Regions from separate parts of the Homo sapiens genome. Here all the other regions are linked to region 1. Evidence: promoter capture Hi-C in 16 types of primary human blood cells and fetal thymus (Javierre and others, 2016). All regions are on one chromosome and are shown on one strand. The core of a region is centred on a gene start or on the middle of the fragment in contact, and the rest is flanking DNA. Distances in the headings are between cores, read along the strand shown. Region 1 holds the start of UBQLN1 (ubiquilin 1). Region 2 overlaps SLC28A3 (solute carrier family 28 member 3). Region 3 overlaps SLC28A3 (solute carrier family 28 member 3). Region 4 overlaps SLC28A3 (solute carrier family 28 member 3). Region 5 has its middle 11 kb from the start of SLC28A3-AS1.

Region 1 (2,538 bases), core at 20-2,519:
ATGCTGCCAGAAATTTAGGTGATATCAAATGATGTCTATACTGAAATCGATACCCTCAGGATTCTCTTAGACCCAGATTCCATAGAGCTCTGCTAAAAAGTCGTGTTTATGTAACAGTATTTATTCTCAGAACAGGGTTGGACGGCTTAGGAGCAGAAAGGCAGAATGTATCTTTGCGGATTTGGGTCATAGTGGGCTGTCAGGATTTAAATTGTGCAACATTGATTAATAATGGGCTGGTTTGTACATTCCTTGCAAGTCATCTTTAAAAGCCAATGACGTCATTTCAAATTAGGATTCTCAGAGATAATTTCTCTCTGTATTACACTGAAAATAATTTTGGAACTATCCTTAATGCCACTTAAAGCCTGAAATTGACCAGTAACTTAATTTGATAGAATATAAGGCGAACACCTCAACTATATTAAATTGTCCCATTTGGGTGGACACTCCTCGGGCACCCTGTTCCGCCCTACACACAGATAATCTGGGGGCGCTCGCGCACAGCTGTCATCGTAGCAGCAGAGGCCACTGTCAATACAGGTTGCCTGACTGATCGTCTGACCAAACCGGGCTAACCCGAGGGCGGTAAATAAGCTCTGGCCATGAAGCAATGACTCCGCAGGATTGCGCAGGGCAGTCACGGGCGTTCACTCCATTTTCTGTTCGTTGTGCTGAGGCCTTTCCACCATTAACTTACCCCAACTCCCCCGCATAGGGCAATACGACCCCTCCAAATATCAAACGCTAAGCATATTAAAATAACAAAATACCTCGCCGCTATTTTATCACCAGACCCTCCTCCCAGCGGGGAACGCAGAGTAGACAGAGAGGCAAGGGAGGGCAAGGCGATTGTGACAGCGCGGAGGGGTGAACACGGCCCAGCTGGGCATGAGGTAAGGTGGGGAGACTACCTGGACAGCAAGCGCGCAGGCGCAGCCGCGGCCGCAGGGCCCACTGGTCCCTTTCTAGTAATTTCGCTAACCGTGACGTCATCTCGGTGCGCCGTTACAGCGCTTAACTGGAAACTGCGATTTAGTTTTTGGTGAAAGGAGTGGAAAAAAACCATGAACTGACCTACCCCGCCCCATTTTGCTTTTAGTCCTTCACACTGGCTTCGCCTGCACTTTGGGCAATGGAGCGGGAAAGGAAAAGGCACGCAGGCTGAGCTCAAAGTCGCGCCAGCCGGGGATGACTCGGCGACGCCGCCAGGCGCGTTACCCGGCGTGCTCCGCGCGGCGCCGGCGAAGGGACGTGGGGGAAGGGGCAGGGAGGAGGAAGCGGTGGCTGCTGCGGATGTCGGTGTGAGCGAGCGGCGCCTGAACACACGGCGGCTGCCGAGCGCCTGACCCGGGCCTGCGCCAGAGCCTGCACCGAGCTCCGGGGCCCCACACCCGCTACGGTGGCCCTGCGCCCGTTGCTACTGAGGCGGCGTGCTCTGCATTCTTCGCTGTCCAGGCCTGCCGGCTCTGGTGTCTGCTGGCTCCTCCTTGCTCGCCTGCTCCCTCCTGCTTGCCTGAGTCACCGCCGCCGCCGCCGCCACAGCCATGGCCGAGAGTGGTGAAAGCGGCGGTCCTCCGGGCTCCCAGGATAGCGCCGCCGGAGCCGAAGGTGCTGGCGCCCCCGCGGCCGCTGCCTCCGCGGAGCCCAAAATCATGAAAGTCACCGTGAAGACCCCGAAGGAAAAGGAGGAATTCGCCGTGCCCGAGAATAGCTCCGTCCAGCAGGTGAGGCCGCCTGGGGCTCGGGCCGGGATGGGGGTGGCGGCAGGACCTCCGCCCGCCGCCCCAGGAGACCTTTTGGAAGGGCCTGGGAGAGGGGTCGTCCTCGGCCATTCTCCCGGGCGTCGTCCCAAATTAGATCACACCCAAGTTCGTGGGTTTGCGCCTTGGGACACCGCAATGGTTTGTGGCGTGGCGGCGCGGCCTGTTTGTGGGACGGGCTGATGCCGCTTTTCTCGGAGCCTTCCTTCTCTGGTATCCGCCGACCCTCAGCCTCCTCCCCCAGTTCCCCGCCCTCCGTCGCCTCCCCTCCAACTCCTCACAAAGGAAAGGGACCCACCGCCAGCCTCCGGGCGGGGTGGAGGCTGGGCGGGGGCGAGGGTTCGCTTTAGCTCAGGCTGCGGTTTTGTTTCATGAATTAAAAAGGGGTGGGTGGGATCCTCGTTGTTTTACGTGCCTGCTTGTTAAGGTGGGTTTTGGGGTGAGGTGCATGTGTATATTTAGTTCTGCATTTTAACTCCTGAAATCTTTCCCACCTTGCAACCTTTAAAAAAAAATTATGACGTAGAAACTGTTTTTAGCTCCATCTTAAGTAATAGTGATAGTACTAGGTTTAAGGAGAAAAGTGAATGACTTTCTTTCACTGATGACTTGCTCTTTCCCTTTTAGTATGTTTATCATCTCTTAGATGCCAATCATTGGGTAGGTTTTTGTTTGATTTTAGAGGGGCGATAGCGATGTTGATATTAGCGGTTGCAATCAAATAAAAGAAAATCGGAGTGAATGCAGAATATTACTTAAACTTGGTTCAGGAATA
Region 2 (2,538 bases), core at 24-2,523, 620 kb before region 1:
TTTCCCCACTCCACAGATATTTTGCCACGTGTCCATATTTGGGAGAGGCTTTTTGGAACAGGGCAACTGAAAGATTTTTCCAAACTCAGAGGAGATGGGGAAGAATCCAAAGAGATGGAAGTTAACAGCAACAGAGGTCAAAACAGTTCAGAATTTCTAAGAGGAAAATGCAGGAATGTTTTTTAACACATTTATTAAAAGGCATCTCTTGGAATCCCAACTCAAGTTTCCTCCTCCCTGTGAATAAGCAATCAATCTTACCACAGCTGCTCTCAGAGGCACAGAACCCAAGCTTGCTCTGAAGTTAGTTGGGTGGAACTCACTTACGAAAGTCTTGGGAGAGGACTAGGCTGGGGAAATGGGCCTCACTCTGCACAAACACACAGGAAAGGCTGAGTTACTCCATGAGTAAGCCAGTCAAGCAGGTTTGGAGAGTTTGTTAAATGGAGTTTACAATTTGGGAGATCATGTAAGTGTAAGTCCATCAGGGATCCAAACCTGCTGGAGTACAGGTGTAGACTTCTTGTCAAGCACGTACTTTGAATACAAAAGTTCTAAGGTAGGAAGTAACTATGTTATGTAGGGAAGAAGAATATTGTTTCTCCTTAACCCACTAGCCTGGGAAGTCAATATGAATCACATTGAGTACTCTTTCACATTGCTCAAGAGGCGCTCGGCTGGAGCTTCCTATATTCAATTAAAACACACACACACAAAAACACATGACAATAATTCGCTTTTGGGAAGGAGGTTAAAAAAGAAAAGTATATTCTCTACTCTTTCCTCAAGTTTGCATGATCACACCTAGACTTATTTTTAGGGGAAAACAGTGTAGGGGATTGTAAACCAAGTCACTTCCATGGCATCTCAGAGAGAGAGGGTATAAGGATTTAGTTTTTCCTCATTCAAACACTCCTGAAGTGATTCCCCTTGAAATTGAGGAGCCACTTACTCATCAGTGTTGAGGCACTGGAAAGAAAATAGAAAATAATTAATAATGTAGATAAAGATACATTTTTGCTGAGGGCTAAAGCAGAACTTTCTAATATGTAACACTAGCCAGATATGTAATTTAAAACTTTTCTGCAAGCCCATTAAAAATGCAAAATAAAGTAGGTATAACTCTTCACCTTATTTTAACTATATTTTATGGAACCTCATATATTGAAATTAATGAAATAATTTATATTTGTTTCATACCAAGTCTTTGAACATCCAGTGCATATTTTAAACATATAGTACATGTCAACTCTAATGCTACATTTTTATCAGAAATACTTGATCTGTTTTTAGATTTCATAAAATGTATATTTGTAAAAAGTAGATTCATAATCAAGTTGTTCTAAACATGCCTGTTTTTCAATACATGGATCTAATGTTCAGTTTTTAATTTAAATTTAAATTAGTTAAAATTAAATTCAGGTCCTTAGTCATATTAGTCACATTTCAAGCACTCAGTAACCACTTGCCACTGATGGTTATTCTATTGGATCACCCACGTAAGCATGTGTTTTTGGTTTTAGAGTTCATACACACACACAGATCTGGTTATCCTTCCTCTTTAAGGACCTGACCACCAGATTTATGCCAAAAAATTAAAGTAACAACTTTACATTTATTTCTGTAATATCAGTAGTAATATCTCCTCTTTCATTCATGAATTTAGTTATTTGTCTTCTCTCTTTTTTTTCCTTGGTTTCTTTTTTCCTTGACATTTCCTTGTTGGGAGGTTTATGGTTAGCAATTCAATCTCTTCACTTGCTATTAGTTTTTTTGAGCTTTTTTTTTCCCTTAAGTAAGTTAAGAACCAACTTTTGGTTTCATTGATTCTCTCTTTTGTTTTTCTAGTCTATATTTCATTTGTCTCCACGATAATCTTCATTATTTCTTTCTTTCTGCTAACTTTGGATTTAGTTTGTTGTTCTTTTTCTAGTTCATTACAGTAGAAGATTGGATTATTGATTTGAGATCTTACTTCTTGATAATATAAGCAATTACAATTATAAAATTCCCTGTAAGCACTGCTTTAGCGATATTCATAAATTTTCGTATATTTTCATTTTTGTTATTTATTTATTTATTTGTGATGAGGGCCATGCTATGTTGCCTAGGCTGGCCTCAAACTCCTGGGTACAAGCAATCCACCCACCCCAGCCTTCCAAGTAGCTGGGACTACAGGCATGCATCACTGTGCTCAGCTTTATTTTTCTTTCTTCTTCTTTTTTTCATGAGACAGAGTCTCACTCTAAGCTTTATTTTTATTAATTCTCTTTTTTTTATAAGACAGAGTCTCACTCTGTCACCCAGGCTGCATTTTAATTATTATCAAACTATTTTCTAACTTCCCTAATGATTTCTTCTTTAATCCATTGGTTATTTAGGAGTGTGCTTAATTTCCTCATAATTTATAAGTTTTCCCCAAATTGTGGTTGGGGAAGACACATTATCTTTCAATATTTTTAAATTTATTGAGATTTGTTTGGGCCTAACATGTGATCTAGCCTGGAGAATGTTCTACATGCACTTGAGAAGAATGTG
Region 3 (2,538 bases), core at 22-2,521, 600 kb before region 1:
GGTTTCACCATGTTGGCCAGGCTGGTCTCGAACTCCTGACCTCAAATGATCCACCCACCTCGACCTCCCAAAGTGTTGGGATTACAAGCATGAGCCATGGCACCAGGCCTCCCATTTGATTTTTAACACTTATTATAATTTATTAGAGATTGTCACCACCCATCCATCTACCCTCCCTACCCAACACCCCTTCCAGAAAAATTAATGAAGCTTTAAGATGATCAATGTGGCCAATTCAAACTGCTGATGTTCTGGGAACCCAATATGCAGATTTAAATTCACCCAGGACAGTCTTCTAATTAAAAGTGTAAATTACCAAATAATTGCTCCAGTCCATACGAATGCAGTTAATTCATCTTCTCAATGTCAATCAATAGCAATTGATCGCTCAAAACCCAATCCACTTTAAATCCCAACAAACGGTTTCTCTTACCTTGTAATAGCCTCAAAGTATTCCAAGTTCTTACAACTCCGTAAGGTAGGAGACGCAAGATTAGTATCTTTATTTTTTGGACCAGAAAAATGAACCTCAGAGAAGTGACTTCCCCAAGTCAACTAGGAGAGGAAGAGAATTAGGTCACAATTTCAGCTTCTGATTCCTAGTCCAGGATTGTCTGCCACCTATCATAACACTACAGTATTTGTCCATCTTCTATATTCCTACTTAAATTTGATTTGCATTCCTATGTCTCTGAGGAAATTTTTCTTTTTTCTTTTTTAGAGGCAGGGGCTTACTCTGTTGCATAGGCTGGAGTTCAGTGGTGCTAATTTTAAATCTAGAAATAGATTTTAAATTTTTTTTTTGAGATGGAGTCTTGCTCTGTTGCCCAGGCTGGAGTGCAGTGGCACAATCTCAGCTCACTGAAACCTCCATCTCCCGGGTTCAAGCAATTATCCTGCCTCAGCCTCCCGAGTAGCTGGGATTACAGGCATGCACCATCGTGCCCGGCTAATTTTTGCATTTTTAGTAGAGACAGGGTTTCACCATGTTGGCCAGGCTGGTCTTGAACTCCTGACCTCAGGTGGTCTGCTTGCCTCAGCCTCCCAAAGTGCCAGGATTACAGGTGTGAGCCACCACGCCCGGCCAGAAATATATTTTAATTTAAATCTATTCTGTCCAGCCTGGGCAACAGAGCAAGGCCCTGTCATGAGATCTGTCAAGCTCACTGCAGCCTCGACCTCCTGGGCTCAGGTGATCCTCCCACCTCAGCCTCGCAAGTAGCTGGGACTACAGGAGGAACTTTGTTATATGTATCAGAAGATATCTCTGGAGTTGGCCAGAATTAGGGTTGGCAGCTCTTGTCACATATACATCATCCCAAATATTTACCATATCAGAAACATAGCAAAGTTTTATCCTTCATTTTACTTTATGAGTCTCTGACCCGGAGGTACTGAGAAATTCTCTTGGGTGGTCAGAGGTACTCAGGTTTCACTAATGTTAATGAGACTGAAACAGCCATCAGGAGGTTGGGAATTATTCAGCCTAGATAACCAAATGACCAAAGTGTCTACTTTCAGCTACTCTGCTTTATGCAGAAGTCAGATTGCCACAATGGACTACACACATTCCCTGCAATTAAAGAACCTGATAGAGTCAACCTACAGTATGTGAATGTACCCTATTAAATGTCACCCTCTGCTGCTGCTGCTTCTTAATATATCTTCAACTGAGAATAATACATCATTAGCCTTTCCTAAATCAGACCGTGAAAAAATGTCTTCACTACACTTTTATTCACCCAATATTTTCTAGAGAGCACTGTTTCTAACTCTCAGTATACATATTCACACACATACATAATGATGAACATTTCATGAAGTGATACCTATTGTTCTTATGTATGAATGATACACTATGATACTTTTGATATTTTTATTCTTTCTTTTTGTTTTTGTTTTTGTTTTTTTTTTTTTTTGAGATGGAGTCTCGCTCTGTCTCCCAGGCTGGAATCCAATGGCGCAATTTTGGCTCACTGCAACCTCCGCCTCCTAGATTCAAGCGATTCTCCTGCCTTAGCCTCCCGAGTAGCTGGGATTACAGGCCTGTGCCACCACACCCGGCTAATTTTTGTATTTTTAGTAGAGACAGGGTTTCACCATGTTGGCCAGGCTGGCCTCAAATTCCTGACCTCAGTTGATCCACCCGCCTTGGCCTCCCAAAGTGCTGAGATTACAGGCTTGAGCCACCGCGCCTGGCCTTTTTTTTTTTTTTTTGGTTGAGACGGGGTGCAGTGACACAATTACAGCTCACTGCAGCCTTGACCGCTCGGGCTCAAGTGATTTTCCCATGCAGCTGGGACCACAGGTTTGTGCCATCACACGAAGCTTTTTTTTTTTTTTTTTTTTTTTTTTGTAGAGACAAGGTCTCACTGTGTTTCCCAGGCTGGTCTGAAACTCCTGGGCTCAAATAATCCTTCTACTTTGGCCTCTCAAAGTGCTAGGATTACAGGCATGAGCCACCACACCTGGCCTCCTTCTATTTTAATAGTGGTTACTATGTGGGCTTCATAACCCGCTAATGCATCCCCAACTCAG
Region 4 (2,538 bases), core at 23-2,522, 580 kb before region 1:
TGTTATAACTGGTGCGTGCACCCCGACCCATAGAGCTTACAAGCCACACATAGACACAGTCCCCAATATTGAAACTGAGTAACACAGCCCAGTCACTGTGTGACTCAGGAGACTAGGATTTCTTACAAAATAAGTGGGCTTCATTGTAGGTCTTCATCCAGGCCTCGGAGTGCCAATTAGTAGGAAGAGGCAAGAAGAAAGGAGCAAAGGACACCTGTGGAGCAGCTTGAGTGGATCATCTGGGGAATGCCATCCCCACTGTAGAAATGCTGCCTCAAAAATGTTCTGGGGGGAACAGGAACAGGGAGGGAGGTGTTGATCCTGGAATTCTGAAAATATGTGGAAGAGAATCCAGAAACCATGTGAGGGCAGGTAGGAAGGGGAACGAGTGGACCTGCAATAAAGAAAACAGAAGTCGTGTACAGATTAAAGGGCCACCAGATCAATGAAGATTGTGTAAAGGCACCAAGGACCTCAGGAGAGCAAAAGGAAGATGGAGAGAGGAGAATATACACATCTGCACATGAATCATGAGTCCCTTCTCCACTCCCCATCCCCTCCCCATCCCCTATCTAAAATGATGTAATGAGGCTGGGCATGGTGGCTCATGCCTGTAATCCCAGCACTTTGAGGGACCAAGGCAGGCAGATCACCTGAGGTTGGGAGTTCAAGACCAGCCTGGCCAACATGGTTGAAACCCCATCTCTACTAAAAGATACAAAAATTAGCTAGGTGTGGTGGTGGGCTCCTGTAATCCCAGCTACTCAAGAAGCTGAAGCAGGAGAATCGCTTGACCAGGGAGGCGGAGGTTGCAGGGAGCCAAGATCGCACCACTGCACTCCTGGGTGACGGAGCAAGACTCCATCTCAAAAAAAAAAAAGTTGTAATGACATACATGCTTTAGGGGCTCTCTGAACATTCAAAAGGGCAACAGAGAGGTAGAGGAATCTTCCTTGAAAGTTTCCACAACACAGGATTAATTCTTTTCTGAAACGATCAGATTTTGGTTTTATGCTTCTCCCCAGGGATGTGGTCAATTAGCACAAATGTCTCCCTTATCCCTCAGCCTCTCAAGGTGATGCCCGCGACTTGGCTCAATGAGCTAGAGTGGCTCTTCCAGACCTCCAAAGAAACATTGTCTTCTGGAATAGAAACAACCCCTGCCCTGTTTCTTCCCTTGCGGAGCTCTTGGACCCTTCCTCTGAACACAAGAAAAAAGCTAATCCCAGGTTTGCCTTCTTTCTTCTGAAATTGCAGGTTCCATCCTCCCACTTGTTAACAGCGTCAGTTATGTCAGCACCTGCGTCATTGGCTGCTGCTAAACTCTTTTGGCCTGAGACAGAAAAACCTAAAATAACCCTCAAGAATGCCATGAAAATGGAAAGTGGGTAAGTGTGACACATTCACCTAATTAATGACTACCCAAGCCGGGGCGGGGGACTCCAGGAGTCAATGTACAGCAAAAATTTGATAACCGGAAAGCACAGTGAATTACAATATTAAAGTTAGTCCAAAGACTATTTAGACTTCACAGAAAAAAGTCTTATTTTATTTCCTTTTTTTGAGTCTTGCTCAAAAAAGACTTTTTTAAAGTTGCTCTGTCACTCAAGCTGGAGTGCAGTGGTATGAACACAGCTCACTGCAGCCTCAACATCCCAGGCTCAAGTTATCCTCCCACCTCAGCCTCTTAAGTAGCTGATACTACAGGCATGCACCACCACTCTCAGCTAATTTTTTTTAGAAACAGGGTCTCACTATGTTGCCCAGGCTGATCTCCAGCTCCTGGGCTCAAGGGCTCCTCCTGCCTCAGCCTCCCAAAGTGCTGGGACCTGGCCAAAATCTTGTTTAATACTTGACATAAACCTCTCTAAATACCTAATGTCAATACATTTCCATATCTGTTTGTTGTAAAGATATTTCTTTATAAATATAGCAGAGTGTTTATGGAGCCTTGGTTTAGACAGAAAGCCATAGGATGACCATTTCTGGAGGTTCCTCCTATAAGAAAGCTGGTTCCTTTTCTTTTGCTCTGTGAAAAAGAAAAAAAAACAGAGTGGAAAAGACTAAGGGATTTAGGGTGTTCAAGAGTATTTCATTAAATAACAGAATTCATCAGCAACCAACATGTGTCTGAAATTCACCCATACTTGTATGTAGATAAAGTCAACCATGAGCGAAAAAGCAAGTTACCAAAGAATACAGCGTAATTCCACTTGTAAAGTTACTCAGTGTGCAGACTTGCACAATGTTGTTTTTTTGTTTGTTTGTTTGTTTGTTTTGACAGGGTCTCACTCTGTCACCCAGGCTGAGCTCAAGTGATCCTCCCACCTCAGCCCCTTGAGTAGCTAGGACTACAGGCACGCAGCACCACACCCAGCTAATTTTTGTACTTTTTGTAGCGACAGTATTTCACCATGTTGTCCAGACTGGTCTCAAACTCCTGGGCTCAAGCAATCTACCTGCCTCGGCTTCCCAAAGTGCTGGGATTATAGGGTGTGAGCCACTGCACCCGGACACACAATGTATTTTTTAGGGAAT
Region 5 (2,538 bases), core at 28-2,527, 560 kb before region 1:
ATTGCCATCTGTACTTTTATTTTTTTGTAGTTCTTTTTTGCCATGTAGAAGTTTCCACATGTAAAGTAAATTTATCTGTTTAGGCCAGGAGCAGTGGCTCACACCTATAATCCTAGCACTTTGGGAGGCAGAGGCAGGAGGATTGCTTGAGTCCAGAAGTTGGAGACCAGCATGGTGAAACCCCATCTCCACAAAAAAAAAAAAAAAAAAAAAAATCCAGGCTTGGTGGCAAGCGCCTGTAGTGCCAGCTACTCAGGAGGCTAAGGTGGGAGGATGGCTTGAGCCCCAGAGGTGGAGGTTGCAGTGAGACATGACCCCACCACTGCACTCTAGCCTGAGAGACACAGCAAGACTCTGTCTCAAACAAACAAAAAAAATTTCCATACTTAAATATATCAATCTCTTTTATTATGGCTTCTAGATTTTGTGTCATAGGAAAGCCATCCCCACTCTAAAGTCATAAAGAAATTTTCTCATCCTTTCTAGTAGAACTTTTGTGGTTTCACTTTTCATATTTGTCTTTGATCCATTTGGGATTTGTCCTCCTAAATGGTGTGAGATATGGCTTCAGATTTTTTTTTTTTTTTTTTTTACATTTTTTTCTAGATGGTTGTCCCAATATCACTTATTGAATACTGGTACAGCTGGCCTCAGTAACCATAGGTTCTGCATCCTTGGATCCAACCTTGAATAGAAAATGTAGCTAGGCCTGCAATGGTTATGTCTGTACTGAACATGTAGAGACTTTTTTTCTTGTCATTGTTCCCTAAATGATACAGTACAACAACTATTTACATAGCATTTACATTGTATTAGGTATTGTAAGTAATCTAGAGATGATTTACCGGAGGATGTGCCTACATTATATGCAAATACTATGCCATTTTATGGCCTCCTGGGGTTTTGGTATCTGAGGGGACTCCTGGAACCAATCCCCCAGGAATACCAAGGGATGACTGTCATCCCTTTTATCATTAAGTCCCCTGTATTGGGATTATGTGGACTTTCTGCTCTGTTCTATTGGTCTGTCTGTTTGCTCCAGTGAACATTAACTGTTTGATCTTTAAAATGAAGATTATAATATCTACCTGAGAGAACTGGCCTTAAGAATTAAATGAGGCCAAGCATGGTGGCTCATGCCTGTAATCCCAGCACTTCGGGAGGCCAAGGCGGACAGATCACCTGAGGTCGGGAGTTCGAGACCAGCCTGACCAACATGGAGAAACCCCGTCTCTACTAAAAATACAAAAATTAGCCAGCCGTGGTGGCGCATGCCTGTAATCCCAGCTACTCGGGAGGCTGAGGCAGGAGAATCGCTCAAACCCAGGAGGCGGAGGTTGCGGTGAGCTGAGATCGCACCATTGCACTCCAGCCTGGGCAACAAAAGCGAAACTCCGTCTCAAAAAAAGAAAAAAAGAATTAAATGAATGTGTAATGTTTGGCCCATAGAAGAGTTCAATAAGTTTCTGCGGAAAATTTTGCCTACTTCACTCTCATACAAAGAAATGCAGATACCCAGATTGTTCACAGATAATCATGGTTCAAAGATTAGCTTTTTCATTCCACTCTGAACTAAAGGCTCCTTTACATAAACTAAAGGCAGATAATGATTTTATCAATGATCTCCATAATAGGTTTAAGGTGGTTTTAGTGAGTTGTTCACTAACCTACTTTGAAATGAAATTCCTAGGGCCATTAATCCCCTGAAACTTGTTTGCCAAAGCAAATTACCAGACAAGACTGGGTTTGAATCCTGGTTTAGCCACTTATCTCTGAGATTCTGTTTCCTTATTATCAAAAGAGGGATAATTATATCTCCTCCTATTCTGAAAAATATTGAGATAATAATATAAGAAAAGTAGCTAGTACTGTGCTTGTCATATAGTATATGTTCAGCAAATGTAGCTTTAACAAATTTTTGTTATCATTATCATGTTCTTTGTTGTAATCATTAAAGATGATGGTTTTGGGTGGATGAAGACAAAAGGAGGGTAATAAACACTAAAACAGGAAAGAAAGAAAGAATAATCAGAATACTAAAATCAAAACTACTTCCAAAACTAAGGTGTATCGATAGAAGGATAGAGGAATATACAACAACGATAAACAATAAGTGATAAATCAGGTAAAATGTTAATGATAGAATCTAAATTTACACAATAAAACTCCTTCGAATTTGCCGTATGTTTGAAATTTGTTATAGTAAAATATTAGGAAAAATTAAAGGCTACCATTGCTTACTCCCTCTAGTCCTAATTTCACCATAACCCCCAAAAACGCTCAAAGGTAAAGGATAATTGATTTTCCTTTAATCTTGATATTTCATATAGAGTGGAGAACTTGTCATTTGCCTCCTGGCCAATTTTTCAAGCTGTCTTTGTGAATGTGATTCACTCCCTTCCCCTAAGATTCATACTTTCTATTTCCTGCTGGTCAAACTGACAGCTCCAATTTACACACACCTGCCATGAATATACTAATGTCCCAGAATCTCCCCTCCCTTCCTGTTTCTCTCAAGCCACCAACTCCCAGAGTCCA

Evidence for each region. Contacts are between HindIII fragments. The CHiCAGO score rates a contact against its expected background, and 5 or more counts as called.
Region 2: a fragment that was not itself captured here is called in contact with the fragment with the promoter of UBQLN1 in region 1 in 1 of 17 cell types (neutrophils); the score reaches 8.7 in neutrophils.
Region 3: a contact is called between a fragment that was not itself captured here and the fragment with the promoter of UBQLN1 in region 1, in 1 of 17 cell types (monocytes). The highest score is 5.3, in monocytes.
Region 4: a contact is called between a fragment that was not itself captured here and the fragment with the promoter of UBQLN1 in region 1, in 2 of 17 cell types (total B cells and neutrophils). The highest score is 6.4, in total B cells.
Region 5: a contact is called between a fragment that was not itself captured here and the fragment with the promoter of UBQLN1 in region 1, in 3 of 17 cell types (total B cells, monocytes and neutrophils). The highest score is 5.9, in total B cells.

What each region holds. Positions count from the first base shown.
Region 1 is chr9:83,706,689-83,709,226 of GRCh38, reverse strand. UBQLN1 (ubiquilin 1) reads left to right here and starts at 1,269. Exons shown (of 11, transcript NM_013438.5): 1 at 1,269-1,727. The coding sequence starts at 1,548. UBQLN1-AS1 (UBQLN1 antisense RNA 1) reads right to left here and starts at 1,392. Exons shown (of 2, transcript NR_135839.1): 1 at 915-1,392. RefSeq lists enhancers at 467-1,355, 1,519-1,588, 1,356-2,246. The HindIII fragment of the contact is 7,028 bases long and covers 1-2,538 here.
Region 2 is chr9:84,329,414-84,331,951 of GRCh38, reverse strand. The region is part of intron 1 of SLC28A3 (solute carrier family 28 member 3); the gene reads left to right. Among named protein-coding and RNA genes, the nearest start is that of SLC28A3, 10 kb to the left of the region's middle. The HindIII fragment of the contact is 1,958 bases long and covers 295-2,252 here.
Region 3 is chr9:84,306,812-84,309,349 of GRCh38, reverse strand. All of the region lies in intron 3 of SLC28A3 (solute carrier family 28 member 3), which reads left to right. Among named protein-coding and RNA genes, the nearest start is that of SLC28A3-AS1, 30 kb to the right of the region's middle. The HindIII fragment of the contact is 2,118 bases long and covers 213-2,330 here.
Region 4 is chr9:84,286,898-84,289,435 of GRCh38, reverse strand. It overlaps SLC28A3 (solute carrier family 28 member 3), which reads left to right. Exons shown (of 18, transcript NM_001199633.2): 12 at 1,258-1,388. All of the region lies in intron 1 of SLC28A3-AS1 (SLC28A3 regulatory antisense RNA 1), which reads right to left. Among named protein-coding and RNA genes, the nearest start is that of SLC28A3-AS1, 10 kb to the right of the region's middle. The HindIII fragment of the contact is 4,681 bases long and covers 1-2,538 here.
Region 5 is chr9:84,266,387-84,268,924 of GRCh38, reverse strand. No RefSeq gene overlaps it. Among named protein-coding and RNA genes, the nearest start is that of SLC28A3-AS1, 11 kb to the left of the region's middle. The HindIII fragment of the contact is 6,591 bases long and covers 1-2,538 here.